2 separate regions of the Homo sapiens genome follow, and region 1 is linked to region 2. Evidence: promoter capture Hi-C in 16 types of primary human blood cells and fetal thymus (Javierre and others, 2016). All regions are on one chromosome and are shown on one strand. Each heading gives the region's core, a stretch centred on a gene start or on the middle of the fragment in contact. The rest is flanking DNA. Distances are from core to core; before and after follow the strand shown. Region 1 overlaps ZNF609 (zinc finger protein 609). Region 2 holds the start of PPIB (peptidylprolyl isomerase B).

Region 1 (5,397 bases), core at 2-2,501, 520 kb after region 2:
GCAGTTCTTGGAGATGTCCTGTCATCTAGCCATCTGATATCTTCCTCATTTGAGGCCACAGATATATACAGCCCAATTCCTCTGTCTACAAGTACATGATTTTATATAGCTCAGTCTATAACCTCCATGTGGGCCAATATAAGCTGTGTTTCTTGGTAACACATATTTTGTTTGAGGGGCCACTGGCCATGGGAGGTTATTTGTTCCTTAGACCCTGGAATAACACATCCAAGCCATTACTTATTAGAGTCTCAGAATGTACTCAGTGGAGCTGTGCTTTGAGGCAGCCAACATTTCTCTGCTCTCCTTAGAAATGCAGTCTCCCAATGGAAGCTTTATACTCTTTGTACTGGGAAAGTGAGGATGATTTGGTAGCTTTATTGGGGTCATGTCTTCCCCAAGGTGTGGGGAGCTTAGCTTACTTGGCTTTTGAGGTATCATCCCTCTGTTCTCCCCTCCTATCTTTCCATGACCCTCTGGATTGAGAGAGAGAGATAAAGACTGACAGACACCAGTGTAGGCTGGAAAAGGGAGTGTGTGACCAGAGTGCCAAAAGTGACTAGGAGCAGGAACTTGGCTCCGACTCAGTTTGGAAAATGGGAAATAGGGGACAGTAAGCACAATGCCCAGTAGTAGTTGATTTCCAAGGACCCTGGAACCCTACACTTGAGAGGCTTAGGGTCACCATCTGCTCAAGAGGATCCCCTCTGATCTACAGGCCTTTTCCCTAGGTTTCTGCCTCCTCGTTTTTGTTCAAGTTGGGTTCTGAGTCCTCCCCAAAAACCATTGTTTTAGACCTCTTGGCAGGGCCCCAAAACAGCCTCCCTCATACCCATCATTCCCTCTGCCTTCTGCTGCCCTCATGGGCAGTGCTCTGAGCAGTGACCTCCCTTTCCTCCGTGGAAGTAGCTAGTGCAGACACCGTCATCCCACCCCACCTGAGTCACCCCAACCAAGAGGGTGACTGAATTTCAGCCTGATTATGCCCTCCTGGGGCTCCTGTGAGGTGGAGCCAAGGTTCCCTCTCTGTTCCTGTTTGTTTTTAAATATTGTTGTGTGTTTTGTATCTGTGGCACTGGCCTGCAGCATACTCTGTATATATTGTAAAGAAACCGTTAGGAGTAATTTTCTTTTGCATTGGGCAGGCATGGCCCTGCATTCCTGCCCTTTCCACTCATTCTGTAACACAGAGGACGAACTTCTGTATTAGCTGGGCAGCCTTGGGTTCTCCAGAAGAGAACAGGTTTTTCTTTTCCTTTTTAATTTTTCTTCTTAAACATTTGGCTCTTTGATCCTCATATCCAAGTCTCCCCTGAAGAGTAGGAGCTGCTCAGAAGAGCAGGTGAAAGCCACCATGGCAGATCCTGATGCCTGCCGGGCCTAGTCTTCCCTCTGAAATAACATGAAGCAGCAGCTGTGGAGATTCTTGACAAGTGCTGAGTGAAAGATTTGCTGCCCACCTCTACATGGGGAGGAGAAACACAGGTGGGAGCTACCTGTGGCATCCATGACCTAGTCAGAGGGATGAGATGCTCAGCAGGGGTCCCCATCCTATCCCACCCCACAAACAAAGGCTGGAAAAATTTGCTACCAAGGGCCAAGACCACCAGACCAAGCCTGTTTATGAGCCACCCCTGCCCAGGCCCTCACAGACATTGCTCACGGGGCTTCCCATAGAGGAGAAGCTAAAGAGGGAGGGGGCCTCATCCCCAGATAGATCAGGCAAGGCTTGGAGAGCTGCTCTTTAGGATCCACATCAACTACTTCCTCATTTTAAGGTATGGCAGTTCCCTTCATCCCCTTTTCCTGCCTTGTACATGTACATGTATGAAATTTCCTTCTCTTACCGAACTCTCTCCACACATCACAAGGTCAAAGAACCACACGCTTAGAAGGGTAAGAGGGCACCCTATGAAATGAAATGGTGATTTCTTGAGTCTCTTTTTTCCACGTTTAAGGGGCCATGGCAGGACTTAGAGTTGCGAGTTAAGACTGCAGAGGGCTAGAGAATTATTTCATACAGGCTTTGAGGCCACCCATGTCACTTATCCCGTATACCCTCTCACCATCCCCTTGTCTACTCTGATGCCCCCAAGATGCAACTGGGCAGCTAGTTGGCCCCATAATTCTGGGCCTTTGTTGTTTGTTTTAATTACTTGGGCATCCCAGGAAGCTTTCCAGTGATCTCCTACCATGGGCCCCCCTCCTGGGATCAAGCCCCTCCCAGGCCCTGTCCCCAGCCCCTCCTGCCCCAGCCCACCCGCTTGCCTTGGTGCTCAGCCCTCCCATTGGGAGCAGGTTGGGGCGAGCTGGAGGCCCGGGCTGGAGGGGCAGTGTTGCTGTTCATAGATTTTGTTCCATTGGCGTTGCTCTGTTGAATTTAATTTCAGTCTTCCTGATTCTTCCCTTCTGTAAAGTGTACATTACCAAGTTCCTTGTTTTTTTATATATATATATAAATATATATATATACAAACTGTACTCTTTTTGCCTTTGTACATTCAGGCAAGAAGAGAAAATAAATCTTTTTAAGAGACAATCACAAATCTGTGAGGGCTGCTGGTTATTTCTCCTGGAGTTTGCTGCTGAGCTGCCTCTTCCTTCCTCCCAATTTTCCTGTTCTCCCTCAGCTCTCCTGATCTTCCTGGCCCTGCTCCATATGCATCCTCAGCTTCACTTTCCCTGGCTGATGGCAAGCTGTTGAATCCAGTGTCCAGACTACCTGCCTTGTAACCCTTTTCTGCCCAGCATTGTTTTCTGGCTTGGCCACTGGCTTAGCCCAGGAGCTTTACTCTGTGCCCTGGCCTCCCCTCTCTTCACCTTTAGATTTCCATTCACCGAAGTGGCTTTGGACCCCTGGGTACTCTGGGACCTGTTTCCTGGAGGCCCTGGCTTGGGACACTCACCTGTGAAACTATGCAGCTGGGAGCTCTCTGCCTAAGAGTTTGCACTATTTAAACCTGCCTGGGAGTTAGGACGGATGGTTTTAGGAATGACCGGAAAACTACCCCTAAAACTCCCCCGACATTCCAGCCTCTAGAATGCTCTGATCCAGAGCTCAGTGGATGATTCCCAGCTGGTGGACTCCTGTGGCTACCCCATCAGAACAAGGGCTAAGGGTTTATGGGTCAAGAGTATTTGATCAGAATTTTAAAGGGTGGTATACTCTGAAACACAGCCCAACCAAACCATTGTTTGGCCGCTTTCTCTTTTCCTCTACCTTCCTCATCCCCACTTTTTTCCCTTTCTCTCTACTTCCTCTTCTTAATTGGCTTTGGAATTGAAATATATTTTTAAATTATTTGTTGTATTTATTGAATAAAGTTTTTAATGTCCCTGTTCTTAAATTTAGACTTAGTTTGCCTTTCACACACCACCCCCACCCCCAAAATATTCTACCTTCTAAGTTGCTTTTTAAACTGTAGTGCAGCCTTTTGGGTACCATATTTCTTTCCTGTCAGTGGTCTTCAATAGCAAAAGTTTTTTTTGAAAAGGGAAATCTTGACTGGGTGATTTTTTTTTGAAGAGGGAAATCTTGACTGGGTTTCCAATTTAGCCTTTGTGACTCTAGCCGTATTGAAGAGGAATCACCAATAGGTGGCAGCAGAATCTCAAGCATGTTTCTTGGGAAAAAGTAAGGGACTGAGTTTTGTCTTGGTTCTTTTTCATCTGTCTTGTCGATTCCTTGTGTTTGTTTAATATCTGCATCCTAAACTGCCAGCTGCCTCTAGGAATTACCTGCCCAGTGGGGGACACTTGATTTCAACGGAATGTCTCTAGTCCCAGACTTGCTCTAATAACATTTGCCAGGCACGGTGGCTCACGCCTGTAATCCCAACACTTGGCGAGGCCGAAGCGTGGGAATCACTTGAGGCCAGGAGTTCGAGACCAGCCCGGGCAACATGGCAAAACCCTGTCTCTACTGAAAATACAAAAAATTAGCTGAGTGTGATGGTGGGCATCTGTAATCCCAGCTACTCAGGAGGCTGAGACAGGATAATCACCTGAACCCAGGAGGCGGAGGTTGCAGTGAGCTGAGATTACACCACTGCACTCCAGCCTGGGCGACAGAGCGAGATTCCATGAAAAAAACAAAAACAAAAAAAAACTTGGGATTCGAGCTCATTACTTTTAATGAATACAAGTTAGAGTCCAAGATAAATGACTTGGCCCACAGTGAAAACACAAGCAGGCTCCATAAAGAGCAATGTGAGAGCCACAGCTTAACAGTAGACAGTTGCAAAAATGTAGGTGGAAGAACATGCCCTTCAATTGGCAAAACAGAAGCAAAAGAAAAAAAGTGCCAGTAAATCCTTGAGAAATTAAAAAAACTGTGGTGAAGAGGATTCCAGCCCCCTTGGTACCACTGAGAGCTTATTCATCAGGCTGTGGTGTGGGGGACTGGAAGCCACACCTTAGGACACTGAGCTCCAAAAGGGGAAAACTAGAACAGGGAAGGTGTGTGCTGCATCCTTCAAAGACCTCAGGAATGGGAATGTCAGGAGCTCCATGCAAAAGCCAAAACCCAGTATCAGGACCCAACCTCCCCAGCCTTTTACAGAAAAGGAAGAGCTAAGAGCAGATTGGATCTTGGGTATAGCCTCTCCTAGATGAAGCTGATATGTACACATCTCTCTCCAGGGGGCTCTGGCAGTAAGTCTCAGACTCCTAGCAACCCCGCATTTCACAGTGTAATATGGCCCCAGAGAGAGACCTCAGCCAGTTTATCTGCCCTCCTACACTGCAGTTTTTTTCCCAAGGAGCACGCACCACACCTCTATTTATTAGGCTCTGGAGTCAAAACAGTTTGGTAGGGAGTTGGTCCTAGTTCAGAAATAAAGAATAGACCAACCACAACTTTAAATCAGTTTATTGACACAGTAACACAACACACTTGCCTCCCTGACATCCCCGTCCCCCTCACCCAATCTAGATCTCTCCCCCTTGCTCTCCCCTTAGAAAAAGCTGTTTAGTGAAAACAGTTAAGGGCAGGCCACTTCTACACTCCCAGCGCTACCCTAGGCCCTGCAGAGCAGAGTCTCAGACACTACTCGGAACCTGGTGGGGAGGCAGCTAGTACTATACTCAGCCAGCCAGAAGTATCCAGTCCCTAAGAACGGATTGCCCCACAATTCCCAGGCCCTGAGTTGCTATATATTCCTCTTCCTTACTGCTGTTTGTGACCCCAAGAAGGAGACCTTGGGGCCTGGGCCTGCAGCCAGGAGCAAGAACTCCTGGCAGTGATTTGAGAATTAATTAGAGTTTGGCTAGTGTTTTAAAGGCCCAGGCATCCCCCAAAAAAGCCCTGGTGGTGGGAGTAAATTTCAATGCCCCTATTTAAAATGTACTGATAACATTAAACAGATTAAGCCAGCTTAACCAAATGCCAGAATAACA
Region 2 (5,253 bases), core at 1,727-4,226:
CCCTCCCACTGTGGAGGCTACACTGACATACTCCTTGGCCCAGAGGACCTGTGGTTACCTCCTGTGCCATCTCCCCTGGTGAAGTCTCCGCCCTGGATCATGAAGTCCTTGATTACACGATGGAATTTGCTGTTTTTGTAGCCAAATCCTTTCTAGAAAAAGGGAAGAGAAGGTAAGGAGGTGGTATGGGGCAGCAGGAAGACATTACATTAAATAGGCCTCACAGGAACAAGTCCACAACTCCTGCTCGCAGAAGAGACACCACTGCTGACCACTTTCACTGTTCAGTGTGCTACTAAGTGAGCGGGCAGGCGCCACAGGACAGGCATGGTACACACAGATGTGGAAATCCCTCTGCCTCCATACAATTCCCAAGCTTTATACAATTCTACATCACATAATGCTTTTCCCCTCATTTCTTCCAATCATAAGAACAGATACAAGAAAACTGAGAAGAAAGGTCACCTGCTGGCTCAATGGAAAGTTAATATAAACTGAAATAGGGCACTGTTGTTTCCTTAAAACCCACTGCCCTCACCCTAGGTGAAGTCTCCCCAGGAAGCTCTGGACCCCTTACTCTTTTTTATCTCATTTTTTAAATTTTATTATTATTTTTTTGAGACAGAGTTTCTCTCTTGTCACCCAGGCTGGAGTGCAATGGCACAATCTCCGCTCACTGCAGCCTCCACCTCCCAGGTTCAAGCGATTCTCCAGCCTCAGCCTCCTGAGTAGCTGGGATTACAGGCATGTGCCACCACAATGCCCAGCTGATTTCTGTATTTTTAGTAGAGATGGGGTTTCACCATGGTGCCCAGGCTGCTCTCAAACTCCTAAACTCACATGATCTGCCCTCCTCCGCCTCCCAAAGTGCTGGGATTACAGGTGTGAGCCACCATGCCCAGCCTGTTTTTTTATTTTTTATTTTTATTTTTGAGATGGAGTTTCCCTCTTGTTGCCCAGGCTAGAGTGCAGTGGGGCAATCTCGGCTCACTGCAACCTCCACCTCCTGGGTTCAACAAATTCTCCTGCCTCAGCCTCCCAAGTAGCTGGAATTACAGGCGCCTACCACTACACCTGGCTAATTTTTTGTATTTTTAGTAGAGACAGGATTTCGCCATGTTGGCCAGGCTGGTCTCGAACTCCTGACCTCAGGTGATCTACCCGCCTCAGCCTCCCAAAGTGCTGGGACTACAGGCATGAGTTACTGCGCCCGGCCTTTTATTTTTAATTAATTTATTTTTTTTTTGAGACAGGGTCTCACTCTATTGCTCAGGCTGGAGTGCAGTGGCATGAACATGGCTCACTGCAACCTCCATTTCACTTCAGCCTCCTGAGTAGCTGTAGCTGGGACCACAGGTGCACCCCGTCACACCCAGCTAATTAAAAAAAATTTTTTTTGGCCGGGCATAGTGGCTCACACCTCTAATCCCAGCACTTTGGGAGGCCAAGGCAGGCGGATCACCAGAGGTCAGGAGTTCGAGTTCAGCCTGGCCAACATGGTGAAACCCTGTCACTACTAAAAATACAAAATTAGCCAAGCGTGGTGGCGCATGCCTGTAATCCCAGCTACTCAGGAGGCTGAGGCAGGAGAATCACTTAAACCCGGGAGGCGGAGGTTGCAGTGAGCTGAGGCCGCACCACTGCACTCCAGCCCAGGCGACAAGAGTGAAACTCCGTCTCAAAAAAAAAAAAAAATTTGCGGGGGTAGAGACAGGGTCTTGCTATGTTGCTCAGGTTGGCCTTGAACTCCTGGGCTCAAGCAATCCTCCTACTTTGGCCTCCAAAAGTGCTGGGATTTTAAGTGTGAGCCACTGTGCCTGGTCAGGGCCCCATTACTCTTAAGAAAGGGCAATACTGTGTTCCCAGGGCAACAGGCAGTCGGTGCTCAGTGAGGTCCACGCTACAGATCGGCTGAACTCTGCAGGTCAGTTTGCTGCCATCCCCAGTGCCAATTTCACTTCATGTGAGTTGACTACCCCTGCTCCAGCCACTTACCTCTCCTGTAGCTAAGGCCACAAAATTATCCACTGTTTTTGGAACAGTCTTTCCGAAGAGACCAAAGATCACCCGGCCTACATCTTCATCTCCAATTCGTAGGTCAAAATACACCTGAGGAAAGAGACCATTTCCAACTTAGCTTCTTTAAAGGGGCGTTGCTAGGGGAGGGAAGGTACAAGAAGCTAACCTGAGGATGGGAGAGAGAATAGAGCCATATTTTTAGAGAAGTGGTTCTGAATCTGATTTTGGTGACGGTAAAAATCCTATGAGAATCTAATGAAAGCTCCAGACCCTTTTCTTGGAAAACATGCTTATCTATACCCTCCTTGGACTACAGGATAACAATATTTGCTCTAAACAGCTAATGGACCCAGATTCTAAAAATTAACATTAGAAAACCCATAAGGAGCGGAGCCTAAGTTCACCACTTAAGTTTGAAGTATACATACTGTGCTTTGTAATTGGAAGTGGCTAAAATTTGGCTTAAGGAGAGAAAGGATTCGGAATCCGGCAGGCGTGATCTTTCACCATCTCCCCAGCACTGAGGGGTGTTTGCAAAAAGCCTGCTCTGAGACTGCCAGTGTCGGCCCCAGATGGGTATCCGGGGATCCAACTAACTCCCTGGGTCAGGGCAGGGGCTGGGGGTGTCGGGGTGGGTCCGGGTCGTTCCCTGGACTGAATGGGCAGGACGGCCCAGACGCCACGAGGCCACAGACAGAAGCCGAGGGAGGAGGGGCTGAGCCAAGGCCAAGCCAAGGCCGCCCGGGCCCGAGCTCCGGCACCGTAAATGCCGCGGACTCCACCGGACCTTGACGGTGACTTTGGGCCCCTTCTTCTTCTCATCGGCCGCAGAAGGTCCCGGCAGCAGCAGGAAGAAGACGGACCCCGCGATGAGGGCGGCGGCAAGGAGCACCTTCATGTTGCGTTCGGAGAGGCGCAGCATCCACAGGCGGAGGCGAAAGCAGCCCGGACAGCTGAGGCCGGAAGAGGGTGGGGCCGCGGTGGCTAGGGAGCCGGCGCCGCCACGCGCGGGTGGGGGGGACTGGGGTTGCTCGCGGGCTCCGGGCGGGCGGCGGGCGCCGTTTCCCCCCTCCGGCTCGGCGCCGGATAGTAGGTCCCCCTGCGGGGCGGGCACCGACGCGGGCTCGTGGGTGGTTGCCACGTTATTGCTCCCTCATTGGGCTCCCGGCCGCCCTCTCCCGCCCACAGGAAGGCCACCGGCGGAAGGCGGCCTCGCAGAGCACGGGCCCGGGCTCCGAGAAGACCACAAGCCCCGGCATGCTCCGCGGCCCGCCCCGCCCGGAGCGCTGTTCCACTGGCCTGCGGTAGCTGGCGCTTGAGGTTAGCAAATACGTGGGCCTGGACAAGGGGCACGGGAAGCTTGTCACTGTTTTGGGCCAGTCAAGTGTTTGTCACCGCCAAATTGGCTCTAAACGTTGTGGCTTCCAAACACTTCAGGGACATTTATCCTTACCGAGCGTGGCCTTGTACGGCTCCTCCACTTGTCTTGCAAAACTTGCTGCACAACCCACTTCCTTTTTTACTGAGGCCGTCAAGTTACTACCCATTTTTCTCTCCCTTCTGTAATCTTGCTGTGCTTACTGTTGTGTATATCAATGGACATCTTATTGTATACGCTGTTCTTAACTTCCTTTACCTTTTCCCCCAATAGACTACATTTTTTTTTTTTTCTGCGGAAGGGACTGTGTTGCATTTACTCTGTCCACAGCTCCCTCACAGCGCGGCAGTACTGAGTGCCCAACAAGTCCTGGTTGGGATAGCTTCACATCCGCACTGACATGAGAAATAATTTATGCCACGGCCTGAGGATACAATGCCTTTTTCCGGAGGTCAGGAATAGTTACTAGATGTCCCCACAGGGCTATTTTAGGTCTTCACACACTTAGTGTTGTCCCAATCTACAACATAGATACTTTGGTACTGGGAGTCTTACACACCAAAACAAACCAAAACACAAACTTCCAAAATTTGGACCTATGGCGTTAAAACGTCTTTAAAACTAATTTTCAACGATTAACTTCGTAGAAATTCCAGGTCGTCACAGCACAGATTATAGGCAGGGCTCCATTTACATAAATTATGCAATGTAGTCTTCATGAGGCGCTGACCTGAGACTGAAGTTATGCAAGGCCACTGGCATTAACTTTGTTGTTCATTACAGCGGCCTTACACAGGTTGTAGAGCTTCAAGACAGTTCTCTTATTTCCCATCCTTGCACCTCAATTCAGACAACCCCAATCAGGAGGAAGTTTTAAACATTGTTATACTGACAAAGATGATCTTCCAGATCCATCTCTCATCCCTTTTTTTTTTTTTTCTCCTATTTTGTTAAGCCTCTTTCTTCACTCACTGGTCTCAGGCTGCCATAGCCAGAGAAAAATGTTTACTAAATCATGTTTTCAAAGTAGCCTCCAGCTGGGCACAGTAGCTCATACCTGTAATCCCAGCACTTTGAGAGGCTGTGGCAGGCAGATGACTTGAGTCCAGGAGTTTGAGCCTGGGCAACATGGTGAAACCTGTCTCTACAAAAAATACAAAAATTAGCAGGGCGTGGTGGTGCGCATCTGTAGTCGCAGCTACCCCAGAGGCTGAGGTGGGGGAATCACCTGAGCCCAGAAGGTCAAGGCTGCAGTGTACTGTGATCGTGAAACTGCACTCCACCCTGTCTCAAAAACAAAGAAACACTCAAAAAACCCAAGTAGCCTCCTGCACATGAGGAGCTAAGGCTAAAATGGCATCACAGCAGCCTTTCTCCCACTCCCACTTTCAAAAGAAATCAGGTTGATGGATAAAATGCTCTCAATGTGAAACTTTTCTCTCATGATTCTTCCACTGCTACCTGCCTGTGAAAAAGTAATTAAAGAGTAGTAACAAACTGGAAGGAGTCAATCATGCCCAGATTGACAGTTGTTCTGTTGGCTACATATGCAGTATGGTTTTACATTGCTCATCATAGTTCTATCTTCTGTCTGGACACATATTCCGCATTTGTAGAGGAGAATTATAAAGCTACTAAAGTTGTTCCACAGAGCAGATCCTGATTTCCTGTGTTCTACCACCTGAGAACAACAGGGACCCAGGAACTAACGTATGAGTGATAATGTCCAAATTCTTCCAGGAATATTTATTTATTTGAGACGGAGTCTTGCTCTGACGTCCATGCTGGAGTACAGTGGTGCGATCTTGGCTCATTGCAAACTCCACCTCCTGGATTCAAGCAATTGGCCTGCCTCA

What was found. Contacts are between HindIII fragments. The CHiCAGO score rates a contact against its expected background, and 5 or more counts as called.
Region 1: a contact is called between a fragment that was not itself captured here and the fragment with the promoter of PPIB in region 2, in 2 of 17 cell types (megakaryocytes and erythroblasts). The highest score is 5.2, in megakaryocytes.

What each region holds. Positions count from the first base shown.
Region 1 is chr15:64,682,722-64,688,118 of GRCh38, forward strand. It overlaps ZNF609 (zinc finger protein 609), which reads left to right. Exons shown (of 10, transcript NM_015042.2): 10 at 1-3,347. It overlaps OAZ2 (ornithine decarboxylase antizyme 2), which reads right to left. Exons shown (of 5, transcript NM_002537.3): 5 at 4,853-5,397. Among named protein-coding and RNA genes, the nearest start is that of OAZ2, 18 kb to the right of the region's middle. RefSeq lists an enhancer at 2,821-3,322. The HindIII fragment of the contact is 1,840 bases long and covers 332-2,171 here.
Region 2 is chr15:64,160,046-64,165,298 of GRCh38, forward strand. PPIB (peptidylprolyl isomerase B) reads right to left here and starts at 2,977. Exons shown (of 5, transcript NM_000942.5): 1 at 2,807-2,977; 2 at 1,996-2,109; 3 at 59-152. The coding sequence starts at 2,941. RefSeq lists enhancers at 1,536-2,100, 2,334-2,834, 2,642-2,891, 2,835-3,335, 3,442-3,491 and a silencer at 2,942-3,301. The HindIII fragment of the contact is 3,002 bases long and covers 375-3,376 here.